Regions from separate parts of the Homo sapiens genome. Here regions 2 and 3 are each linked to region 1. Evidence: promoter capture Hi-C in human tissues and cell types (Jung and others, 2019). All regions are on one chromosome and are shown on one strand. Each heading gives the region's core, a stretch centred on a gene start or on the middle of the fragment in contact. The rest is flanking DNA. Distances are from core to core; before and after follow the strand shown.

The links. Contacts are between HindIII fragments. The study calls those that stand out against the background at their distance.
Region 2: a contact is called between a fragment that was not itself captured here and the fragment with the promoter of LY86 in region 1, in 1 of the 25 tissues and cell types used here (spleen).
Region 3: a contact is called between a fragment that was not itself captured here and the fragment with the promoter of LY86 in region 1, in 1 of the 25 tissues and cell types used here (heart left ventricle).

The regions. Positions count from the first base shown.
Region 1 is chr6:6,586,432-6,590,821 of GRCh38, reverse strand. LY86 (lymphocyte antigen 86) reads right to left here and starts at 2,102. Exons shown (of 5, transcript NM_004271.4): 1 at 1,952-2,102. The coding sequence starts at 2,087. The region is part of intron 1 of LY86-AS1 (LY86 antisense RNA 1); the gene reads left to right. RefSeq lists enhancers at 3,576-3,705, 3,716-3,805. The HindIII fragment of the contact is 16,234 bases long and covers 1-4,390 here.
Region 2 is chr6:5,281,239-5,285,628 of GRCh38, reverse strand. All of the region lies in intron 1 of FARS2 (phenylalanyl-tRNA synthetase 2, mitochondrial), which reads right to left. Among named protein-coding and RNA genes, the nearest start is that of FARS2, 22 kb to the right of the region's middle. The HindIII fragment of the contact is 8,093 bases long and covers 1-4,390 here.
Region 3 is chr6:5,512,248-5,516,637 of GRCh38, reverse strand. All of the region lies in intron 4 of FARS2 (phenylalanyl-tRNA synthetase 2, mitochondrial), which reads right to left. Among named protein-coding and RNA genes, the nearest start is that of FARS2-AS1, 56 kb to the right of the region's middle. The HindIII fragment of the contact is 6,166 bases long and covers 1-4,390 here.

The DNA of each region.
Region 1 (4,390 bases), core at 853-3,352:
TGTAGGATCAGGTACTTGCTCAAGCACTGCATCCTCATCACTCCCCAGCTTAGAGTGAGGCCAATTCAGATGCTTAATCAACTTCTCTTTTCCATCTCCTGTAGTTCAAACGGCATTTTGCCCCCATCTCCCTCCAAAGTGGCAGATATCACAATGCCATGCGTTTGCACAAGCCAGTCCCTCTAACAGCAGATGTGATCCTGAGGCTGGGCTCCTGAGTTGCTCCCCACTTGGGAGCCCTGTATGGGATGAATTGCATCCCCTCAAATTTATGTATTGAAGTCCCAACCCCCAGTACAGTACAGCCCCCTTATCCAAGATTTCACTTTCCAAGGTTTCGGTTACTCTCAGCCAACTGCAGTCCAAAAATATTAAATAGAAAATTCCAGAAATAATTCATTAGTTTGACATTGAGCATCCTCCTGAGTAGCATGATGAAATCTCGTGCTGCCCAGCCCACCAGGAACACGAATTGTCTAGAATATCCATGTTGTCTCTACTACCGGCCTGTCCGTCACTTAGTAGCTGTCTCATTTATTGGGTCCAAAAACCATAGTATATGTAGGGTTCAAAACGATCTATGATTTCAGGCATCCACTGGGAGTCTTGGAACGTATTCCTAGCAGACTGGGGGGGGACTACGGTATCTTAGAATGTGACTGTATGTGGAGATAGGGTCTTTTTTTTTTTTTTTTTTTTTTTTAAGACAGAGTTTCGCTCCTCTTGCCCAGGCTGGAGTACAATGGCACGATCTTGGCTCACTGCAACCTCCACCTCCTGGGTTCAAGCAATTCTGCCTCAGCCTCCCAAGTAGCTGGGATTACAGGCGCGTGCCACCATGCCCAGCTAATTTTATATTTTTAGTAGAAACAGGGTTTTTCCATGTTGGTCAGGCTGGTCTTGAATGCTTGACCTCAAGTGGTTCACCCTCCTCAGCCTCCCAAAGTGCTGGGATTACAGGTGTGAGCCATCATGCCCTGCTGGAGATAGGGTCTTTAAAGAGCTGATTAAGCTAAAGTGAGGCCATGGAGGTGGGCCCTAATCTGATATGATTGTGTACTTATAAGAAGAGGAGATGAGGACACAGATGTACACAGAGGGAAGAGCACATGAGGAGACAGGGAGAAGATGCCACCTAGAAGCAAAGAAGAGAGGTCTCAGGAGAAACCAGCCCAGCTTCCAGAGCTGTGAGGAAATAAATCTGTTATTTAAGTCCCCAGCCTGTGGTGGTTTGTTATGGCAGCCCTAGCTGACTAAGACACAGCCCGATTGGTTGGTTCTGACACTTCTTACCACAGTTCACTGCATTCTCTTCACTGAATTGCAATTATCTGTTGGCGTATTGGGTTGGCCCGCTGGGGTGACAGGCCTGGCATATGCACTTTTATTATCTCTAGCACTGAGAAACCCTGGCATTGATAGCTGCATGCGAAGTGCTTGCTGAATTCATGAGAGCTACTGCTGCAGTGAAAGCTCTGAAAGTGTCCAGAGAGGGACAGGAATCTTCTCTTTGGGCAGAAGTGATCTTTTCACTTCACTTGCAAAGTACATCAGATGGAAAGGTAGCCCAGGTGTACGGTGTTGAGGAAGGGCCTACTGGAAGCTGCTTTTCCTAATTTTCAGCTGGTGAGGTTTGATGATTTGGTAGACTCACTGATCATTTTGTTCTTTTTTGGGTTCTGTGGTGTTAGTAAATGGCTATATTTAGATTCAATTTCTCTTTCTTGTACTCTTTGTTGTTCTGCCATTCTCTTCCGCTCCCAGTCCTGGCCCCACCGCTCCTTCTTCCAAAAGCTCCCAGTGGCCCTCCCAGACCTGCTGCAGGTGGAGAAAGTGTTCAGCTGCTGGTCCCCTCTCCCCTCCCACCCCAACTCCAACTGAGCACTAGCGGCTCACATCTGTGGGCCTTGCTTTCCCCATAAACACACATGGGTGTACTGCAAGGGCTTACCGCAACTCTGGTAGAGCACTTCCAAGCCGCTGTCGCTACAGACCACGTGTGTGGGCCAGGCTTTCCCACCGCCGCCTCCACTGCAGCTGGGAAAAATCAGAGTCCAGAGGAAGAGAGTGGCTGTGAAACCCTTCATGGTGGGGGCCTGTATGGGACACACAGAAAAATAACCGGCCAATAAAAAGCCTGTAAAATTTCTTCCTCTCCCCTCACCAAGGCAGTTGGATGTTCAGTTTCACTTCTCAAATTTTAGACTCGCTGGGAACCACAGTCAGAAGTAAAAGGCTGAGAGCAGAGGCATTTGAATACTGTTCCCCCAGGACCTTGAATCTACAGGTGTGGCTGGTCTGGTCTGGGGTAGGATGCGTGCTGACTTTCTGCTTTCACAGGGAGAGGGTCAGTAGTGATGCGTGAACTTACCTCTTGGGGGCCCCTCAGAACAGCCTCCACCCCCAGGTGAGGCTGTAAACTTGGGAAAGACAAAGCGCAGGCCACCATCTGTTTCCCATCTCCAGCCCCCGAGTCTCTGCAGGCTCTTGATGCAGGCTGTGTATGGACCCAGGGACCTGGCTGCAGCCAGCAGGCAGCAGTTGATAGCACGAGGGCTACAGAATGACATTTGGAATCTGGAATGAGGCTTTGGCCCTATTGTCACTTTCCTCTCCTCTGGCTTTGGCTCTGCTCTTAGGTTTGGGATTTTAGCAGTGAATTGTCCAGCTGCAGAACAGACCTTGTTTTGGGAGCTGCAGATGTGGTCTCTGGAGATGAGGCAGAGGCAATAGCCCTGAGAAGTGAGCCGTGTTCTATTTCTGGGTTTGGCTTGGTAGAAAAAGTAGGAAGGGTGGGGAGGTGGGGCCACCCTTAAGGAGGCTGGTTTGCTGGTTTTGGTGTTAGTGGGATCATTGACATCACATCTCACTTTCTCTTCAAAGCCAAGATTCTGTCTTCCTTCTTCCATGTATCTCTATTCTGCTGCAGGACAGCAAGGTTTCTCAGTCTTGATTCCTCAACCCCGCCCCAGCTTCACCTTAATGTAAGAGGACCAGAGTCAGTGCCAAGGTCAGCAGATTTCAGGAGCAATAGAAAACACTATTTTCCCTGGGAGGAACAGCATTTTTCTGAATGCACTAGGTAAATTTACTATTTCTGCTGATGGCTAAGCAAAAATTAGAGTTAGCTCAAAACTTTTTTTGAAATAGGTGGAACATAATTACCAATAAATTAATTGGTAAATAATTTGGATTTCTTGATAGACATCAGAGAGTGGTCATTTGGAGAAGGAACAGTTGTGGATTGATTATTTTTAGGTACCTCTGCAAATAAGTTCAGTGATGATGGCTTTCAACAGCAGTTCTCAAAGTGCGGCCTGGGAAGATGACAGCCTCAGCTTCCACTGGGGGCTTGTTAGAGATGCAAATTCTGGGCTACTCAAGACCTATTAAATCAGAAACTCTGGGGGGCGGGACTCACCATTCTGGATTTTCACAAGCCCTCCAGGTGTGCCTGATGCAGTCTCAAGTTTGAGAACTGCTGGCTTTTACAGAACATAAAGCGAAGGTTGAGCCCCAAGGGAGTGGTGGGAAGTTGCTCTAAGAAGAGACAAGGTGGCCCCTCTGGCCTGTGTGAGCGGAAGGCAGCTGCGCTGTGAGCAAGATCTCGGGAGATGAGAGTCTGAAGCTTATGGTGAGAGCAGCGGCCCTGGTGGAAGCGTGGTAGCCCCTAGAAGGTCCAGGATGGAACACAGAAGCTTTCCCTTGGGATATGTGAGTGCTCCAGCAGTTGTAAAGAGAGCTCTGAACATATGTGAGTGAGGAGAGCAATTGAGGGTGAGAACTTCCTTCCCTGCAAAGTGCGTCATGATTGACACTGGAGGAGGAGTCCAGGAGTGCAGGGCAGGGAGCAGAAAACCTAGCAGAGAGCTGTGGGCAGCTGTGGCAGGGAAATGGTCTTAGTATGTTCTGGCTGCCATAACAAATACCTTAGACTGGGTGGCTTAAATGACAAGCATTTATTTCTCACCATTTTGGAGGGTGGAGGTCCAAAGTTGGAGATTAAGGTGCTAGAAGATTCAGTGTCTGGTGAGGGGCCTCTGGTTCACAAATGGTGCCTTCTGGCTGTGCCCTCACATGGTGGAAGGGGCGAAGGGTTTCTCTTAGGCCTCTTTTATAAAGGCACTAATCCCATGTATGAGAGCTCCATTCTTATGACCTAATCACCTCCCAAAGGCCTTTCCTCCTAATACCATCACCTTGAGGCTTAGGATTTCAACATATGAGTTTGGGCAGGGCCACAAACATTGGCTTTATTGCAGAAACAGTGTCATCTGAAGACAGGGGTACAGATTCTTGAGAATCAAAAGACCTGGAAATGAAAGGAATCATAATTCAGGGATCGCACTAGCATTTAGAAATATTCCAAATGGACCAATCAGGAACCTTG
Region 2 (4,390 bases), core at 1,167-3,666, 1.3 Mb after region 1:
AAGCAGTCTTGCCTGAAGAGAGAATGCACTTGCTGATGCAGCCTTACATTCAAGGAATAACTGCGAGCACCCACCATGTGCAAAGATGAGTCCCCCATGGTCCTCCGTGTCCTCCTACACGCTTTACGAGTCTCTCAAAAGTAGCTGAGAACAGCATTTTGCTCACAAAGGTATAATACACATTAAGAAAAATGTTCAGAGGACTTAAAATGTCTATTCTCCTCAAGAACCAAACCCCACTCTTCTCAGCACAGGCCTCATCCTCCGGCAGCTGGTGTTCCCCCATCAGTCTCTCTAGATCCTGCCTTCCTCCCCTTCTCCCTCTGGACTCCTCCTCCAGCTTATTGCTCCCCTCGGTCGCCTCCTGGACACTGCTCCCTTTGGCCTCTTCCGTCACTGCATCCGATGCTTCTCACCCTGACTGCTTCTGCACCTCAGACAGATCAGGCTCCTGTCAGCCTCTCCCTCTCCAACCTGTGGCCTTTTCTTTCTCGCTTCAAGTCTCTTGAAATCTGTATTTGTTGCCTGCCCCCTTTGCTGTCACTTTTTCTCCTTGCTACCTGGCTTCTTAGAGCCAGGCACATGGAAGGCACTCCACACATGCTGGAGCCAGGATCCTTAACAAAACGTTAGAGGTTGAGTGAGAAGCTGACTTGGGGTGGGGGTGACGACTGAGTTTGTTTCAGACACATTGAGTTCCAGGTGATGGCAGGCCATGCAGATGAACATGTTAAGCAATGCTTGAGAGAGGCCCATGCCAGTGATCACCGGAGTCGAAAGGCCACGGAGGGAGGCTCTGGGGAGAAGACAGAAGCGCTGAGAGGAGGAAGACCCACCAAGGACCACAGAGCTCAGCTCTTCACATCACAGAAGAGGAGGGAGAACATTTCAAGAAGGTGAAATGAGAACACTAGTCAGGGTGTGAAATGCCACAGATGAGTTGAAGGGGATGGAAGACAGTAAACAAGGTGAGGGAGTGTTAATGTAATCACCAGAAGGCGACTGGTGATCTCTGAAAAGTAGTTCCAGTGATAAATAACATATAAAACATAAGCACTATTTATGATCTATATGCAGAAATCTCAAATAAAATGTTAACAAACAGAACCCAGAAGCCATGGAAGAACACTGCACGACAGCCAGAGCAGGTGGTGGATTGCAGGCACACACCCCATAATTCAAGATAGGAAATCTATTTCTCTAACTTGTCCTACGATCGAAAGAGAAACAGCATACCATCAGCTCCCCAGACATTGGACCAAAGTTAAAATTCCCTCTTAAGACAAATAAACTTTTAATAAAATAGGAAGACTGTTGCCTTAATATATCCACCAAAACTCCAGAATAGTGATTTATGAGAAACCATCACCAGCACTCCATATAAGTCCAACCTCTGAATAGCAAAATGAGAATGAGCTAATGACAGAACGATCCCCCGAAATGAATTACAAATGCCTCTGAAAGCTGTAACAAGGTGCTCAATAGCATTCATGAGAGAAATGCAAATTGAAATGACAATTAGATAGTATTTTTAATGTGCAGTTTGGGAAAGATCAAATTGTTTGATAACACTATCAGTAAGGGTCTAAGAAAGAGGCATTGCTGGTAAAAACCTTTGTAGAAGATAATTTGACAATATCTATCAACATTTTAAATGCATATATCCTTTATTTCGGCAAGCAATAATTTAAACCTACATATATACCTGTTTGTATGTGTGCAAAATGATGCCTGAATGAGGATATTATATTCACTAAACAATTTGTAAAAGCTGAAGACAGGAAACAAATTTTTATTGATTGGGGACTGGCTAAGTAAATTAAGAATAAGGCACCTCTACATGTATTGATACATTTGATACAGGGTATCTGTGAGATATACTGTTAAAGGATAAAAACAAGAATAGTGTGAATGGTACCTGACACCTTTTAGAAATGCGATATAAATGTAGTTTATGCATATACATGCATATATAAGAAAATGTCTAAGACCAGGTAAGAGCTGAAGGACAGAGACAGGAGAGAAGCTGATTTTTCATCCTGTATGTATTTATGCCTTCTGATTTTTTTTTTTTTTTTTTGAAACAAAGTCTCGCTCTGTTGCCCAGGCTGGAGTGCAGTGGCGCAATCTCAGCTTACTGCAGCTTCCACCTCCTGGGTTCAAGCAATTCTCCTGCCTCAGCCTCCCGAGTAGCCAGGACTACAGATGCCCACCAAGACGCCTGGCTAATTTGTTTTTTTTTTTTTTTTTTTTTGAGACAGGAGTTTCACTTTTGTTGCACAGGCTGGAGTGAAATGGCACAATCTCAGCTCACTGCAACATCCACCTCCCAGGTTCAAGTGATTCTCCTATCTCAGCCTCCTGAGTAGCTGGGATTACAGGCGCATGCCAACATGCCCAGCTAATTTTTGTATTTTTAGTAGAGATGGGGTTTCTTCATATTGGTCAGGCTGGTCTCAAACTTCTGACCTTAGGTGATCTGCCTGTCTCAGCCTCCCAAAATGCTGGGATTACAGGTGTGGGCCACCATATCCTGCATTTTTTTTGAATTTTTAGTCGAGACAGGGTTTCACCATGTCAGCCAGTCTGGTCTTGAACTCCTGACCTCAAATGATCCACCTGCCTCAGCCTCCCAAACTGCTGGGATTACAGGTGTAAGCCACCGTGCCTGGCCCTTGAATGTTATACTATATGCATTGCAAGCCACTAGGCTTTATGGCCACTCTCTCCTTTATCCCTGCTGTTCAGCCAGCCTCTGTCTGGACAATATCTCTGCCATTTGGCCCTCCTTTCCACCCTCATCACAATGGACATAATGTAGAGACCCTCAGCATCTTCCTCCTGGAGAATTAAAACAGCCTTTAACCACTTTCCCTTTTAAATAACTTATCTTCTCTGATTGACGCTAGGCACCATTCCTGGACCCACCTTTCTAAAGCACCAGTTTATTAAGTTTCACAAAATCAGGGTTCCACTTAGCCTATCAAAGTGCTCCACACGGGCCCAAGCCCCTTTCTCTTCCAGGGACTAAATCGCACACTCCAGCTGATCAAAACTCGAACAGCTGCTCTTTTTTTCCCTACCACTAACCCTCAACTCCGGTGGCCTCCTTTATCAGGAATGCCCATGTCATGATTGTCTCCCTTCCCCATATGCACCGGCTAAAATGGCTCGTGGCCTTCAGCACCTACTGAAACCACCACCAACCTCAGGCGCTTCCCCTGGTGTCCGCCTGGGATGTGAATGCTCCCTCCCCTAAGCGCCATGGACCATGTGTTTCTTTTGCAACCCCTGAAATAGGCTGCCTCTCATGCCTGCTTGCTGCTGCTTCCTTCTAAGCAGCCACGGCAATGATAGGCTGCATGCCCTGCTCTGTTCCTCAGTCTCCTGAGCAGTGAGACTCCCTAGCAATACAGAGCAAGTCCTCTGGCAAGGTAACACTTTCCTTGAAATTCCAAAAATTCCTATTGCTCATTAAATGACTAAAAAGCCATCTGAATCCCTACATTTCAATGTACTTATTTTGCATGGTTGCACAGCATTCACAATGGCATTATACTGACAAGCTAGGAAGTATTAAAAATATTACATAACAGTTACTGATTCTTTTTGCCTTCTCAGTGCAGACTGGTAAAGTTTGGAGTATCAAGCACATACTCAAGACAGTCCATTTTACCACCTGTCACTTAAAAGTCATTTTCTAGAATTATTGTTTTCTTAAATGAGAGAAATGATCTGACTCCGGGTGAACACATAAGGTTAGTGATGGCTAGGAGCACTGACTAAATTGAATGGTTTCAGGTCCTCGAGAAGTGTCTACCATTTCCCAATACAAGGCAATTATGCATTTAGTTAGGATACAGTCACGTTAAAGGAGGTGATCCCTGTAGACACACAGAGAGATATCATTACTATATATTGGTTCGGACAATCACTGTGGACAACAATTTTAAAATATCATCAAATTCACAGAATAGTGGTTACCGGGGGCAGGGGGGGTGGGAGAATGGGGAGCTGCTGTTTAAGGAGTACAGAGTTTCAGTGTGGGATGATGAAGTTCTGAAAAATGGATGATGGTGGTGTTTTCCTCAAGCATGTGAATGTACTTAATGCCACTGAACTGCACACTTAAAAATGGCTAAAATGGTAAATTTCATGTTATATATATTTTACCACAATTTTAAAAATCCACCATGAAACATGACTTTTAAGCATTTTTTTGACACAGTAAAAACAAAACAACTACAGGTTCTTTTCATTTCTAATTTAAAGACGGAAATAAGACAAAATAAGTGAAAGAACAGCAGTTTATTTTAAACCTGATGCCTCTAATACATGAATTATTAAAGTTTATGCTATTAAATCTTTTTAAGTCTTACCTTCACTTGTA
Region 3 (4,390 bases), core at 1,404-3,903, 1.1 Mb after region 1:
GCATGATCTAGTTATTTTGCAAATGAGTACAAAATAGGTGGAAGAGTTTAAGTGACAAACACAAATTGGAAAAATTAGCTAACACAGAATAGCACCGTAATCAGAAAGGTGCCCAGGTTCCTAGGTCCCTATAGCTTTCGTTACAGCACTCCGCTTCTGTGGCTGTGTCAACTATGCACATTAATCAAACAAAATGTATAATTAAAATCCATTTACAAATTAGAGAGAACCTATACTATTGCAAACCCTTTTGGTTGTTGTTGCTGTTACTACTGCTGTCAATTACTTCCAAGATGACACGGCAGAGAACATACTGTTACACGAATATTCCTTGTGCTACACTTTCTGGCCCCTCTATAGTCTAATGGGGCTACGTGACTCATTCTAGCCAATAAAGTATGTGTGAAAGTGAAACGTGTCCCTTCTGGGCAGAGACATTCAAGAGCTGGTGTGACGATTCCATGCTTCTGTTCCCTGACCCCAGAACTACTATTGGGCTGGCACTGCCACAGTCTGGAAGGGCCCTGGCTGCTTATGCTGAGTTACCACATGGAGGGGTCAACCACTGCAGACTCGGAGCATTTGCAAGAACAAGACATAACCTCGTTGTGCTAAGTGATTGAGGTTTTGAGATGTTTTTTCTGTTGCAGCAGCTCATGCTTAATTACCCTAACACAGCAAACTAAATTACACACATAGGGCTGTGCATCTTGAAGTTGAGTACTGTAACAAATGTAATTAATATGATATAAATTACTAAACGTAAACCCACTTAAAATATTTTTCTATTTTTGTTTTAAAATGATATGCTAAATTATACATTAAATTTAAGACGTATCAGGTATAAAACCTGATTAAAGTCCTATAAAATTATCAATGTCTAAAACACACAGTCAAAATCAAATGCTGGGCTGGGCACAGTGACTCACACCTATAATCCCAGCACTTTGGGAGGCCAAGGCAGGCAGATCACTTGAAGCCAGGAGTTCAAGACCAGCCTGGCCAACATGGCAAAACCCCCTCTCTACTAAAAATACAAAAATTAGTTGGGCGTGCTGGTGCACATCTATAATCCCAACTACTTGGGAAGCTGAGGCACAAGAAATGCTTGAACCCAGGAGATGGAGGTTGTAGTGAGCTGAGATCACATCACTGCACTCCAGCCTGGGTGACAGAGGGAGACTCTGTCTCAAAAAATAAAAATAAAAATAAAAATAAAAAAACGCTGAATCAGGTTTCAAGCACTACTTTTTCTAAAATGGCAATATCCCCATGAAATGACTATATCATAGTCATTGTCTGAGTCTAGGACCTAGAGTTTTCGTTCCACATGGTAATCATACACCATGAGAAATTCCTATTGGCAAGAGTTTCATGGAACTTCAATTAAGCTTCATTTGTTATCTCTGAGTAGCAGTGCGGTGTCACATTATTTCCAGAATTACAAAAAAGTTTTTATTATTACTGTCAGATGTACCTCTTTCAATTTTACTATTTGCTATTATTTCCCTATGGCCACATAGATTACAATACGTCCATCTTTAATTAAAAGCCACAGATGGAGTTTCGCTTGAAGGCTTGTCCGTGTAATCCCAGTTACTCAGGAGGCTGAACCAGGAGGACCACTTGAGACCAGGAATTCAAGACCAGTCTGGGCAACAGTAAGACCCCATCTCTTGAAAAAAAAAACAAAAAACAAAAAACATTTAGCCAGGCATGGCATGCACCTGTACTCCCAGCTTCTTGGGAGGCTGAGACAAGATGATCACTTGAGCCCAGGAGGTTGAGGCTGCAGTTGAGCCATGTTCATGCCACTGCACTCCAGCCTAGGCAACACAGTGAGACTCCATCTCTTAAAAAAAAAAAAAGCCACAGATGTCATTTTGGGGGAAGATTAAGAATGTACAATTTGAATCTCATGACTGTACCCATAGGGATGTCAAGGGATGTCAGTATAAGACTGTAGTGGAACATTTGGAAAGAGAGTTGTCAATTTCAGAGAAAATTCTCTTCACCAGGTACAGCAGCTCACAGCAATAGCTAATTTACAAACTGAAACCATGATTACTTTGTGTTTCAACAAAAATAGTTCAGCCAATTGTGGGGTGAATTCCCTAAGGCCAGAATGTCCCAACTTTAAATTCATACTGAAAAACTTTTAGACATTTAGAACAGATTTTCATGAATGTTTAGACTTTTAAATGCAGCCAAGCCTCTCTAAATAATAAATGCAATTAGGCAAGTCCCAATTACTATTACAGAATGACTATGCAAGACAAGGCTACCCACATTTCTGAGACGATCAAGAATTTTGTCTTTTTAATGTTCCTCTAAAGTAAATTTCCTTCCATTAGAAATGTGTACTTGGAGAGAATTTCATTATAATTCACAAAACTTGCTTTAACTAGGTGGCTGGCAGATTACTTATGCTTCATTTAAGGGTTTGGCTGCATATTTGTGAATCTGTAATACACACAATATTTCTTTAAACTACAACACATCTGGCACATTCCTAGATTCACTTTATCATATATATATATATATATATGTCCAGATTTTTATGTTAATTTTCTATTTTTTCCCTACTTTACTGCATTGTATACTCTCCTTAAGTATCCTCAAACCTCCTGTATACCATGGGAGAACACAAATCCCCAATGAAGAGATACAACAGTGCATTTGGCTGGATCAATAGTTGTTAAATTTTTTTTTTTTAGATAACCTAAAGATACCTCATAAAGTCATTTTTTCTTGAACTCTTGTGATCTGTAATGGTACAGAAAGCCTTCCCCACCCTGGGAACCTGGCAGGGCCCTGACTAGGGCCTACGTGCCCACTTAGACAGCAATAAACTCTGAGAACTCAGCATTCATTTTCTGTGACTGAGGGCTGCTGAATGAGATCAGGAAACTAAACGCTTAATAAACAGTAGTTACTATGACGTTACCATTCTTATCACCCTGGACAACCTGCTGCCTCCCTGCACACACAGAAGAGGCTCAGGAACAGAAGGCCACAAGGCAATGCCAGGAGTAGAAAAAGGTAGAGGCAGCAGCCAGAACGAAAAGACACAGGCGCCCTGGATGGCATTTGAGACTCGAACACAAAGAGTGCAAACTTCTCTATTTTCCCTGATTGCCTCCAAATCATTCTAGACCTTCGGCTAAATATCACTTCTTCAGGTGGCCTCCCATGGCCTTCTGAATTAGGATAACTTCCCCTGTCAGTACTTTCTGGTATGGTCCTTTTTGTAATATTCAGGTATTCACTCAAAAACATTGACTGAGTCCCTCCTACATGTCAGGCACTGCTCAAGTTAATGTGGATACAACACAAACACGGCTCAGCTCCTTTCCCCAGAGTTCCAGTCTCAGGTAATAACCTCGCTGTTCACAAGGTTCCTGACTATCTGAACTCCATTCCCTCCCTCACCTGTCACATGAGATGAGTCACTAGGACTTGCTGATTTTGACCTCTGGATTCCTTCGTGAACCTAGTTTCTCTCCATCCCAACCACCGCCACCTCATAGTGTCCACCCTCTCCCCTAGGAAATATTCCCATAGCCTCCATCAGGTTTTCCAGCCTGCCATCCACCCCTCTCCAACCCAACCCACGCATCTGCAATTGGAGTGTCTAGGATGAAAATCAGACAAGGACACTTTCTTGCGTCAAACCTATCCAGGGTCCCCAGTGTGTCTGATGACTGGACATCAGTCTACATTTTTCCCTCACTCCCATATTCTCCCATGTGAGACCTGTGCTTCTGCCATAATGAACTATTTGCAGTCCCCAACCTATGTTCTCCTTTTTTTATGCCTACTAATGACACCTAGCACACACAGTTCCTGTCACCTACTTTGTGCTTAATACATATTTTTTGCTGAAAAGAATGAATGCATGAAAGTGTTTGTGTTTTTACATTTACTAGGCCTTCTGCTTGAATTGTCCTTTGTCACCAAATTATCAATGTCTTTATCACATTTGAATCTCGGGTGCCTGGCACAGCATCTGTAACCTAGGAAATGCTGAGTAATGTTTTCAGACTAAATGGATGGACAAATAATTGACGGGCAAACCATCTACCTTAGCTTAGGACACAAAGTGGAATACAAGTAGGTAGAAAGCAATGATTTCTCCTTCATAAAGACACCCAAAAGCCTTTGCTAATTTCCTTCAGGAACATGAACAATGCAAGTCTTGAGAGGTAAAATCAGAATAAATTATTAGTGACCCCAAGGAGAAGACATGCCCTTCTTGTTTCATTTTGTTTTTAATTTGGCTGCTATTGATTGAGGTAGCATAGAGGTAGCACCAGGTAATGGAAAGAGCATTGCCCTGGGAGTCGGAGGACCTGAAGTCAATTCCAGAACTGGCTCTCCCTCTAATTAG